Linked DNA regions of Homo sapiens: region 2 is linked to region 1. The links are contacts of gene promoters, found by promoter capture Hi-C in blood cells and fetal thymus (Javierre and others, 2016). All regions are on one chromosome and are shown on one strand. Each heading gives the region's core, a stretch centred on a gene start or on the middle of the fragment in contact. The rest is flanking DNA. Distances are from core to core; before and after follow the strand shown.

Evidence for each region. The method cuts DNA at HindIII sites, captures the fragments that hold promoters and counts their contacts. A CHiCAGO score of 5 or more calls a contact.
Region 2: a contact is called between the fragment with the promoter of JUN here and the fragment with the promoter of FAF1 in region 1, in 1 of 17 cell types (activated CD4 T cells). The highest score is 12.1, in activated CD4 T cells.

Annotation. Positions count from the first base shown.
Region 1 is chr1:50,956,784-50,962,785 of GRCh38, forward strand. FAF1 (Fas associated factor 1) reads right to left here and starts at 3,484. Exons shown (of 19, transcript NM_007051.3): 1 at 2,984-3,484. The coding sequence starts at 3,028. It also overlaps a transcript of CDKN2C not described here. RefSeq lists an enhancer at 2,771-2,820 and silencers at 3,131-3,180, 3,291-3,450. The HindIII fragment of the contact is 1,270 bases long and covers 2,373-3,642 here.
Region 2 is chr1:58,781,609-58,787,610 of GRCh38, forward strand. JUN (Jun proto-oncogene, AP-1 transcription factor subunit) reads right to left here and starts at 2,439. Exons shown (of 1, transcript NM_002228.4): 1 at 1-2,439. The coding sequence starts at 1,462. The coding sequence ends at 467. JUN-DT (JUN divergent transcript) reads left to right here and starts at 3,543. Exons shown (of 2, transcript NR_108106.1): 1 at 3,543-3,697. RefSeq lists silencers at 236-411, 799-878 and enhancers at 549-728, 2,137-2,884, 2,399-2,658, 2,885-3,630. The HindIII fragment of the contact is 7,855 bases long and covers 1-5,759 here.

The sequences.
Region 1 (6,002 bases), core at 2,234-4,733:
ACTAAAAATACAAAATTAGCTGGGCATGGTGGTACATGCCTGTAATCCCAGCTACTCAGTAGGCTGAGGCAGGAGAATCACTTGAACCCGAGAGGCGGAGGTTGCAGTGAGGCGAGATCATGCCATTGCACTCCAGCCTGGGCAACAAGAGTGAAACTCCATCTCAGAAAAAATAAATAAGTAAATAAATAAATTACCTGGTTTTCTTATAACTGAATAAATGCTTACTTTTAAGTCAATCCTATAAAAATTGAGATAATATAAAAAACAGGAAGAATCATCACTTTTTACTAAGACGATCATTTGTAAGAGAACTCCAGGTTCCTAAACACACAAATGGCTAATGTGTTTAAGGTGTGTAGTTTTCCAAATAATTTTTTCTTCTATCAATAACATTCTTTTACCTATTTGACAATATAAAATTAACATTATTAGGCAAACAATTGTTCACTGCAGATGCCATTCTATTTTTCCCATTTTTAAACAATTGTGTATAGCATTACCATTGGTCTGAAGAGAAAAACTTATTCCCATCTTATTAATGGGATCGAAATTTTCATTTTCTTTTTTTTTTTTTTTTTTTTTTGAGACAGAGTCTCGCTCTGTCGCCCAGGCTAGAGTACAGTGGCGCAATCTCAGCTCGCTGCAAGCTCCGCCTCCCAGGTTCACGCCATTCTCCTGCCTCAGCCTCCCGAGTAGCTGGGACTACAGGCGCCCGCCACCTCGACCGGCTAATTTTTTGTATTTTTTTAGTAGAGACCGGGTTTCGCCATGTTCACCAGGATGGTCTTGATCTCCTGACCTCGTGATCCGCCCCCTCAGCCTCCCAAAGTACTGGGATTACAGGCCTGAGCCACCATGCCCGGCCGAAATTTTCATTTTCATTTCCAAACCAAAATCCCTGGAAAATCTTGCTTTGCCTGAGTACAAGAAGCCTAAATTTCCTGTCCTTTAGCCAATATAAGGTTAACAGTTAAGCATAATAATTGTCACACACAAAAAATAGAAAGCAGATGCAAGTTATTAGAGATAAAAAGGTAAAATTAAAACAAAGTTATAATTACTTTATAAAGTTTTTAATGAGGGAAATCAGAAGACAATTTTGTAACACGGTAAAACTACACCTTGAAATATAGAGTCCTTTTTCAAACAGTGCATTCCACATTAGATAAAAAATGGAACTGGAGAACAAAAACAAAACAAAAAGACGATGATGAAAAACTTAGGCAGGGCTGGGTGTTGGAGCTTACACCTGTATTCCCAACACTTTCGGAGCCTGAGGTGGGTAGATCACTTGAGCCCAGGAGTTCAAGACCAGCCTGGGCAACATGGCAAGGCCCATCTCTAAAAAATTTAATTAATTAATTAATTGAAAAATTTTTTAAAATGTAGGCAGGCAAAAAGCCTCAGGCCAATCCTAAACCTACAAAACATCAAAATCTTATGGTCAACTTTTATTATAAGGACACTCCTTTATTAGTTTGGAGGTTATGGTTTAATCAAACTGTAGATATATGCATATTCCTAATACCTGTATATCAGATTTCACTGGGTAACCAAAACAGCAAACTCTGAAAATGGTTATCTGAACGTTAATTTGTAAAAATAAGGGCCGGGAGCAGTGTGGCTCACGCCTGTAATCCCAGCACTTTGGGAGGCCGAGGAGGGTGGATCACGAGGTCAGGAGATCAAGACCATCCTGACTAACACGGCGAAACCCTGTCTCTACTAAAAATACAAAAATATTAGCCAGGCGTGGTGGCCGGCGCCTGTAGTCCCAGCTACTCGGGAGGCTGAGGCAGGAGAATGGCGTGAACCTGGGAGGCGGAGCTTGCAATGAGCCGAGATCGCGCCACTGCACTCCAGCCTGGGCGACAGAGCGAGACTCCGTCTCAAAAAAAAAAAAAAATTAATTAATTTTAAAAAAAATAAGGAACTTAATAGAACAGAGAGAGAGAAAAGCCCAACAAAATTTCAGCAAGGAAAAATACTGCCTACTAAGCTAGTGTTAGAACCTGTGCAATGTGAGTATTAAAAAAGAGGGAAAAGTCTGCCTATACTTGACAGTAGCTTCTAAGTTGATGCCAAAATGGCCAAAAATATCTCACTAAAATAATTCCTTCACCAAACATCAAAAGGCAAAGGTAGCACTCACAGGATATTAGTTCTAGCTCCAAGTCTTTCACAATGCATACAGTTCTACTTTCAAAGGGCCTTCCTAAGATACTTACATGTCAGTGGCACTACGACTGGGTTTATTAAGAGAACAGCCTTTACTTATCCTTTAAAGTATTCCTGGAGAAAGGACACCAACCAAGCAATTCAAGTCTGTAGGGGAGGGGAATCCGCAAATATGAATAGGTAATTTATTAAGCTTGTGAATTCATTGCAGAGATACTCTGGAATATATAGTCTTATCTGTCTCCTTGTTATCTTCTTACCCTCCAAAGATTCCAATTAGGCAAAGTCTCAAATGTTTACTCCTCTTTGAAAAGGACCTCAGTACCCCATTGTCATTGCCCTCGCCATCTCATCATTCTGCTTTTTTACTCTTCCCTTAATACAATATAAATACACCACGCCCATAACACCACACGCTCCACGCTCACACTCCATACATCTCTCCCCACAGAACCACCCAAAACATCCCATACTTAATGGTCCAACACCAATTAAAACAAAAACTCTACACGTCCCCCCATATAATACAGGAAACACTACACATTCCACACACATTGTAACCCAAGTCATTAATACCTCCAATCCCATTCAACCCGTACTTAACACATTCTACACACTCATGATAGCATATAAATTATACGCTTCTCCATAGCTCGCCACACACACACACACACGCCACGCACCGTATAAAAGCCTAAATGACACACCACTGCAGCGTTCAAACGCTGGGAAGAAGACTCCCTTGTGGCACCGGAAACCCACGAGGTTGGAAGTGGGAGGGGAAGAGGGCCAGATACTTCACCTGAAAATCCGCCAGGATCATCTCCCGGTCCATGTTGGACGCCATGGCGGCCGCCGAGTTCCGCGGCTCCGGGAGCGAAGCGCGCACCTGGGAGGCAGACGGCACCTCCTGCGACCGTCGCCGCCACCGCCGCCGCCGCCGCCGGGCGCCGAGGGGCTGGCGGGCGAGCCGGCGGGCGGGTCGGCGGGCCAGCGGGCGGGGCAGCGCGGGAAGCGCTAGGCGCTCATGCACTCGGTAACCTTCAGGCGCCCCGGCCGCCCGCCTGCAACCTGCGGAGCCCGCGTCGCAGCAGCCCGGACAGGAAGATTGGTCTGGATGTGGGTCCGGTCTTACAGTCGCGGGCCAGGATGAGGGCAGGTTGCGACAGCGCGCACCCGGATACCTTCAGCGGCGTTAAGCCCGGCGGGGGCGGGGAAACCGAGCGAGCGAGCGGGCGGGCGAACGCCGCGGCCGCCTCCGCCTCCTCCGCTTCCTCCCTGGCCGCCGCCTCCGCCCCTGGTTGGCCAGCGCCACGGCTGTCGCACATTTTGCCTGTCATCGAGGTCGCAAAGCGCCGCTTTGCGGCTCCACGTGACCACCCTCCTGTCAAGCGCTGAGCGCGCGACTACCCGGCCAGGATCTCTGCGCTGGCGGCAGAGACTGCAACCTGCAGCTGCGGAAGCTTCAAGTCTCGCAACAGGTTATTCCAGTTTGGATTTAAGCAAAGGCCTCAGGATAGCGCCTCCCCCTAGCTGAGGCGGGGACCAGATTGTGCACCTCACGTGGTTAGTCACACAAATACACACCACCCTCACAAACCAACTAAACACACTGTTACAACTCGTCTAACAAACAGCATTTCAGAAATATATGTTTTTCTCTACAATGTTTCAGCAAAATACAGCTTCATATAGTCTCTCACGCTCAACCTGTCAAAACCGAATCCACACTGTCACACCCAGTCCCAAGCTCCCTGACGTCTGCATCCTCAGACTCCGTAACACAGAAGTAACCAGACTGCCATGGTAGACATGGGAGAGACGAGGAAGCTGAGAAAGGTAAAAATCTCGTTCCAGAGAAGAGGAGGAGCATTTTTTTTAATTGATAAGGTAGTTATGAGAAATAACAACCTCGAGTTAATAGGGTTGCTCCAAAGGGGGAAAAAAGGGAAAACCTTTCTACTGCTGCAGTTATATTTGTTTTTTTAAGCTGAGACATCTTACAAATGGGATAAAACTTGAATCCAGCTTTGAATATAGTCAGTCTATTTTTATTTATTTATTTATTTATTTATTTATTTATTATTTTGAGACGGAGTCTCGCACTGTGGCCCGGGCTGGAGTGCAGTGGCGCGATCTCGGCTCGCTGCGACCTCCGCTTTCTGGGTTCAAGCGATTCTCCTGCCTCAGCCTCCATAGTAGCTGGGATTACAGGCTCCCGCCACCAAGCCCGGCTAAGTTTTTTTTGTATTTTTAGTAGAGACGGGGTTTCACTATGTTGGGCAAGCTGATCTCGAACTCCTGTCCTCGTGATCCGCCCTCCTCGGCCTCCCAAAGTGTTGGGATTACAGGCGTGAGCCACTGCACCCGGCCTATTCATTTTCATAAGAAATTATTTTGGAATATTCACCAAATATTGAAAGTTTCAACCCATGGTCAGAAATTGACAACCTCTGTAACTAAAACAGCCAAAGACTATGTACAATGAAGTGTGACAGTTTGTAATTGTCGTCCAGGTTAGAGAAAGTGTGACAGTGGAAGTTGTTCATCCTTGACTTGGGAAAATATCAGCTTCTGGATTGTCATGGGGCATTTACTTGCTTTGGAAAGTATGTAAAAGCTTGAAAATGTGAAGTAAGATTGCTGATTTTATCCTGTAGAGCTAAAATAACTAGTGAAATCATCATGTAGCATGAAGGCCTAGGCTTCCCTTAAGAACTTTTTAAACTTGTATCATTTATTTACTTTTTTAGAGACAGGGCCTCACTATGTTGCCCAGGCTGGCTTCCAACTCCTGTGCTCAAGCCATCCTCCCACCTCAGCCTCCTGAGAGTGGGGATTACAGGTGTGAGCCATACCACCACACCCAGCAAGGCCTAGGCTCCATAAACTGGGAATATATTCATGAGAAATCAGAAATATGACCTAATTGTTCAGTTTCACTGAATATAAAGAAGTGCACTGTATTATGATCTGAGTTTATTCTGTGTGTTTCCTTAAATGAAAATAGGCTGGCCTACAGTTCTTAAGTACTAATCTGTGTTTAGACCAGAATTAGCTAGATAATAGAACCCTCCACAGTCACATGAATCAAAATGTCTTGCTTAATTTTCAGCCGTAAGAAAATAATTCCATGGCCAGGGCAGTGGCTTATGCCTATAATCCCAACACTTTGGGAGGCCGAGGCAGGCAGATCACTTGAGGTCAGGAGTTCAAGACCAGCCTGGCCAACATAGTGAAATCCCATCTCTGCTAAAAATAATACAAAAATTAGCTGGGCATGGTGGCATATGCCTGTAGTCCCAGCTACTAGGGAGGCTGAGGGAGGAGAATCACCTGAACCTGGGAGGTGGAGGTTGCAGTGTGAACCAAGATCACACTACTGCACCCCAGCCTGGGTGACAGAGTAAAACTGTTTCAAAATAAATAAATAAATATTTTTTTAAAAAGAAAGTAATTCCAAAAGTCAGCACAAATGTGAATCATGAGGCAAAACACAGCACCAATAATATAAATGTGGCAATTCAGTTGCCCCATTCATATAGGCCACCCTCAGTATAAGGCAGGTGAATAATTGTTTCTAGTTATATGGCCAAGGATTAATGCAGTCCTAAAAAGTTGAGAGTTTTTCTCTGTAATGATGCGTGTGTACCTCAGAACCCATTCAAATCCCATGTTGCTCCCTTTTTCTTTCCTTTCTCTCCATCTGGAAATTAAAACAATGTGGTATGTAGAACAATGGGATGAACACACTAGACATTCAGGCATATATTAGTACTGCTTTTCCAAATAATTAGCTGAGGGAACTTGGATGAGTCATT
Region 2 (6,002 bases), core at 1,189-3,688, 7.8 Mb after region 1:
CTCGCTCTCACAAACCTCCCTCCTGCCGCCCCTCCCCAACCCTCCCCCCGCTTTGTGTTCTTAAGGAGTACTACAGAAGCAATCTACAGTCTCTATTGCAGTTTGTAACCCCCTCCCCCTCCCCCCTTTAATACTGAATGAGATCGAATGTTAGGTCCATGCAGTTCTTGGTCAATGTTAACGAAAAGTCCAACGTTCCGTTCGCGCGGGGACAGCCCGTCCGCAAAGCGGGGCAGCCCGCAGGCGGCCGCTCCCTGGCTCCACGCCAAGGGAGGGCGCGCCAAGTCCTTCCCACTCGTGCACACTGGGGGCGCCGTCAGGACGCAACCCAGTCCAACTTGGATACCCTTGGCTTTAGTTCTCGGACACTTCTTTTTTCTCTCCGTCGCAACTTGTCAAGTTCTCAAGTCTGTCTCTCTGTGTTATTTTTTTTCTTCGTTGCCCCTCAGCCCCCGACGGTCTCTCTTCAAAATGTTTGCAACTGCTGCGTTAGCATGAGTTGGCACCCACTGTTAACGTGGTTCATGACTTTCTGTTTAAGCTGTGCCACCTGTTCCCTGAGCATGTTGGCCGTGGACGCCAGCTCCGAGTTCTGAGCTTTCAAGGTTTTCACTTTTTCCTCCAGCCGGGCGATTCTCTCCAGCTTCCTTTTTCGGCACTTGGAGGCAGCGATGCGGTTCCTCATGCGCTTCCTCTCCGCCTTGATCCGCTCCTGGGACTCCATGTCGATGGGGGACAGGGGCGGTGTCTCGCCGGGCATCTCGGGCACTGTCTGAGGCTCCTCCTTCAGGGCCTGCAGCCGCGGGTGCTGCACGGGCATCTGCTGGGGCAGGTGGTGCGGCGGCTGCTGCTGCTGCTGGGGTTGCGCGGGAAAGGCCAGGCCGGCCGCGCCGTAGGAGGGCGCCCCGCCGCCGCTGCTCAGCGCGCCTGGGTTGAAGTTGCTGAGGTTTGCGTAGACCGGCGGCTCGCTGTGCAGGCTGGCGCTGAAGCCGCCGCTGCCGCTGCCCCCTGCCACCGAGGCTACCGCGGGAGCCACCATGCCTGCCCCGTTGACCGGCTGCGCCGCCGACGTGACGCTGGGCAGCGTGTTCTGGCTGTGCAGTTCGGCCAGGGCGCGCACGAAGCCCTCGGCGAAGCCCTCCTGCTCATCTGTCACGTTCTTGGGGCACAGGAACTGGGTGGGGGTCGGCGTGGTGGTGATGTGCCCGTTGCTGGACTGGATTATCAGGCGCTCCAGCTCGGGCGACGCCAGCTTGAGCAGCCCCACGTCGGGCGAGGTGAGGAGGTCCGAGTTCTTGGCGCGGAGGTGCGGCTTCAGGCTCCCCACTGGGTCGGCCAGGTTCAGGGTCATGCTCTGTTTCAGGATCTTGGGGTTACTGTAGCCATAAGGTCCGCTCTCGGACGGGAGGAACGAGGCGTTGAGGGCATCGTCATAGAAGGTCGTTTCCATCTTTGCAGTCATAGAACAGTCCGTCACTTCACGTGAGGTTAGTTTGGGCTGCGCGCACAAGTTTCGGGGCCGCAACAGGGCTGTGGCAAGCGGGGGACACCCGCGCCCCCCGGAGCCTTTGACAGGGAAAGTTTCTCTAAGAGCGCACGCACCCGCTGGCTGTCGTCCCCGCTGCGCCCTCCTCACCAGCTCGCTCCAGGGAGCGCAGGGTTAATTAAGATGCCTCCCGCACTCTTACTTGTCGACTCGCGCGCGCTACCCGGCTTTGAAAAGTCGCGGTCACTCACTGAGCGCTCTTCGTGCGCAGCGGTTCCTCGGAGTCCGCAGGCGAACTCACTTCCCAGAGCAGCGGCTCTCCCCGCGGAGCGGATCAGTGCGGACCCTGCAGTGGCCGGCCGGCGGCGGGTCTTGGCCGCCCGGACTCCGACGACTTGTCCCCTCCTCCGCTGCTAGGGGGAGGGGGCGCCCGGCAGCCGCGGCTCGCGCTCGCCCAAGTTCAACAACCGGTGCGAGCGAAGCTGAGCGCACGTCCTTCTTCTCTTGCGTGGCTCTCCGCCGCCTTCTGGTCTTTACCGCCGTGGAGAAGCCTAAGACGCAGGAAAGGCTTGCAAAAGTTGGCTCCGGGACTCTGCCACTTGTCTCCGGTCCTCCCAGCCGGGAAAGTTCTTTGCTGCTGCAGCCGCTCGCCGACTTCCCCCGGCGGGCGCGTGGGTACCGCTGCTTTCCGCCGCTGTCAACAGCGCCTGGGCAGCAGGGCTCTCCTCCCGGGGGCGGCTGGAGACCAGGCTCTCTGGACACTCCCGAAACACCAGCCCGGGAGCCACAGGCGCTAGCTCTGGGCAGTTAGAGAGAAGGTGAAAAGAAAATAAGATTTGCAGTTCGGACTATACTGCCGACCTGGCTGGCTGGCTGTGTCTGTCTGTCTGCCTGACTCCGCGCACCTCCACTCCCGCCTCGCTGCTTCAGCCACACTCAGTGCAACTCTGAGCCCTTATCCAGCCCGAGCTCAACACTTATCTGCTACCAGTCAACCCCTAAAAATAGCCCATGATGTCACCCCAAGGCCTTCCCATTGGCTCGCGTCGCTCTCAGGGGGGCGGGCCCGCCCGTCACCATGGAGACTCCACCCTAGAAGATTCTTCTCTGGGCCCGCGGAGGCTCACGGGATGAGGTAATGCTCCGCTGCCCTCCTACAGTCGGGCCCTTCTTTCTCCTACCCTCCCCCCTGCCGCACGCCTCTCGGCCCTCTCTTCCCCGGTCCCCTCCCCGGGCCGTTTTTCCCGGCCCGCCCGGTGCATTGTGGGCTGACGTCTTGGGGTTTGACTGTCTAGTGACGGTGGCTGCCGCGAGCGGGCGGACGCTCGCAACCTCTGATGGAGGGGGGCTCAAGTTCACGGCTGCGGACGGGGATGCGGGGGATGCAGGGACCCGGGAGGCCAGGGAACCTGGCCAGTTGTTTTGGGCCAGGGGTGCGGGCGAGGGGTGGTTGTTGTTTCCCCACTTGTGGGGCCCGAAGTCATCCACCGGCGGCCGCCACCGCGCGGGGCTGGAGGCTGAGAATCCAAGTACGCTGCCACCCCCCCGCACTTCCGGGGGGGCGGGAATACCGCCCTTAAGGTGGCTCTGTGAAGTCCCAGGTGGGGGCGAGCCTAAGGGGACTTAAGTTTAGGGGCGGTCTCCCGAGAGTCGGCCCCCCACGTTGAGAACACTCCGAAGTTTGCATCTCGGTCAAGTTCAGGAGCGACGGTCCGCGGGGTCGTCTGGCTGCTCGTAGAAGCCGAGAGATTTGTATTGCCCGAAACTGGACGCTCAGCTGAGTCTCCGTTGCACCCCACTTCATCCTCCGGGACCGTGGGGGAAAGGGCGCGGGGGTTCACAGCTTTGCCTCGGAGGGGCAGTTTTTATAGTGGGCGCAATTGGTGGGTAACAGGGTCCAGATGGGAACAAGCGTGTAGGCGATCCGAAACTCGGGGAACCCCGGTGTTAGTCTACTCCCCCTCCCGCCCCCGGACAACACGCACACGCTTAACACAACACGCACAACATAACGCGCGCGCGCGCGCACACACACACTCCATCCGCGCCGAGTTGCTTCCGGGAAAACAAGCCCAGAAGGCGGCGGACACTCGCATAAAGTCACGCAGTAGTACTCGGAGCCCGGGGTAGAACCTGGACTTCAAATCTCTGCACTCCCGGCCGGGTGGTGGGCGCATATCCTGGGTAGCCTCTAGGAAGCGCTAGACACATGTAAGTGGTTCCTTTTCCGCGGTTATTTTATTCTCCCCCCGCCCCCCACCCCTTAGGGACGAAAGTGTGTGGTGGAAAGAATCCCGAAGTCGGGAATCCTGGTTCTTTCGTGGCCAGGCTACCACAGTGTGAAGCAAGCAAATCACGGAACTCCTCCGAGCTTCATTTCCCTCATCTGCAGGTGGGGCCGGTGCCGTCCACCTCACTGGGCTGCCAGGAGTTAGTGTGACAGGGTCGCCTGCAGCACTAGGGAGGTGGTGGCCAAACAGCCCGCTTCCCTCCCCTGCCTCGCAGTTTCCATCCTCGCAGAGCCTGGATAGGATGCCAGGATATAAGAGTGCGATTTGGCAGGACCAGGTGTACTTTCCTGTGAGAAGCATCGAGGGGAGGAGGGGAGGGGGAACCGGGTTAGAAGTCAGATCTTTCCCAAGCCTCTGTCTAAAACTGGGGCTTGAAGTTGGACCTGCAGCAGTTTAAGTTCCTAGGTTCTAAATTCAGACTTCGCTGCTTCTGAACTTGGAATTCAGCCTTGGGTTCATTGCCCCCAGCCCTAAGGTATTTGCGGCTTTGAGTGTTCAGAAACCAACAGCAGCTGGTATCAGTGGGAAACCTGCCAACTTTTCTTCACTCCGGGCACTCACCTAGCTTTCACTGATCTGCAGAGGGTAACTGAAAGCCTACTGTGAGCCAGGCACTGAGCTGGGGAGGGGGTGGGGTAGGTAGGTATACAGTGATGACAAGATCCAGTTGCTTCCTCAAGGAGAGAACATTCTCCTCTGTCTGTTGCCCTGAATCATTTTCTGTTGTATTCAGGGAGTTGGTGTTCTAAATATTTTTTAATAACAGTAATAAAAATCAGTTTCATGTATTAAACACTTATTATCTGCCAGGCATTCTCCTAAGCAATTTAAATACGCTGTTTTCTCCCCACAACTGTCTTGAGAGACATATATTATTATCCAGATTTAACATGTGAGGAAATAGGCCCAGAGAGGTTAAGTATCTTTGTTGAGGTCACACAGGCAGCTGGAAATTGACCTCAGGTCTGTGTTACATTCCTTTGTATTTTCTCTACTCTGGCAAACTTTCTTGTGGAGTATTAGTTATCTGCAGAGGAAATAGCGCTTGTGGCATAGAAGAAATTTTCTTGCCTGATCCTCTGACTGTAACTCCGTTCAGAGCTCTTGTATTTAGAAATTTCAAGACTTAGGACTTTGCATAAATATATATCTTTTGCCTAAGGTTCTGTGTGTTCCTCTCTGCCTCATGTGGTTTAGTAGGCTGATCTTCTCCTTATGTTGAGAAATAGCATATTTCATCCAAAAAAATAACAAATCTGTTCATGTTAACGCCCCTGCTTGGAAGCCTTCATTGGCTTTTCCTTACAATCAGGAGAGTTCCGATTCCTATGCCTTGGAGAAGGGGCTTTTCACAATCCAACTCCTTCTCTCTCCAGCCTTATCTCTCACTCCCAGTTCTGTCAGGAAAGGCAGTGTTATGCTGCCCTAACAAACAACCCTAACATATCAGTGGCTTATTCCAGTGAAAGTTGGTCATTTCTGCTACATGACCGTTGTAGGTTGGCAGGGTAGCTCTGCTCATTGTAGTCACTAAAGGGCTCAGGCTGAAGGAGGCCTCGTGTTGATACCCCTTTTCACAGCTATCCTGACTGTGGGGAAGGAACTCGGAACATCATGGCTGTCAGAGCATCCACTTATGGCACACATCACTTCTGCCCATACATCATTGGCCAAAGCAGTCACATGGCCATGCCTCTTTAGATCACTATAATCCTACCAGGTGTCTCAAAGGGCTCTCCAGGAATATTTGGGGAATAACACTAAAGACTCTGTCTCCCTTTCTGTTCACCAAATGTTTGGTCTACTCTCCTTCCCCTGGTGGAATTCCCTCATTCTTTATTCAAGGGAAACAACCTTAAAGACCCATCCAGTCACAGCACCAAGCTGCCCTGCCCATTGTTTTCCATGACTCCTGGATTTGCCCTCGGAGAGTCTTCCTTTTCCACAGCTAAAGCAGGCATTGGAAAATATGCTTTTAAATAAGCTTTTAAAAGTTGGGGAGATGCAGAGTGACATTAAGTCTTGAATATGTGTAGGTAGGCTTCTTATCTATCTGATATGAGGTGTTCCATGTGACAATAGCCACAAAGTTCTTTTCCAGACATACTTCTTTGGTTTGCCATATCTCTTTGCTTTCCTGCTCTCCTGCCTGTTGACTCCTCTGTCTCTCTTTTGCCGTCTCACTCTCTTGCTCTTCACTTGATTTTGAGCACTTTGGGCTTATT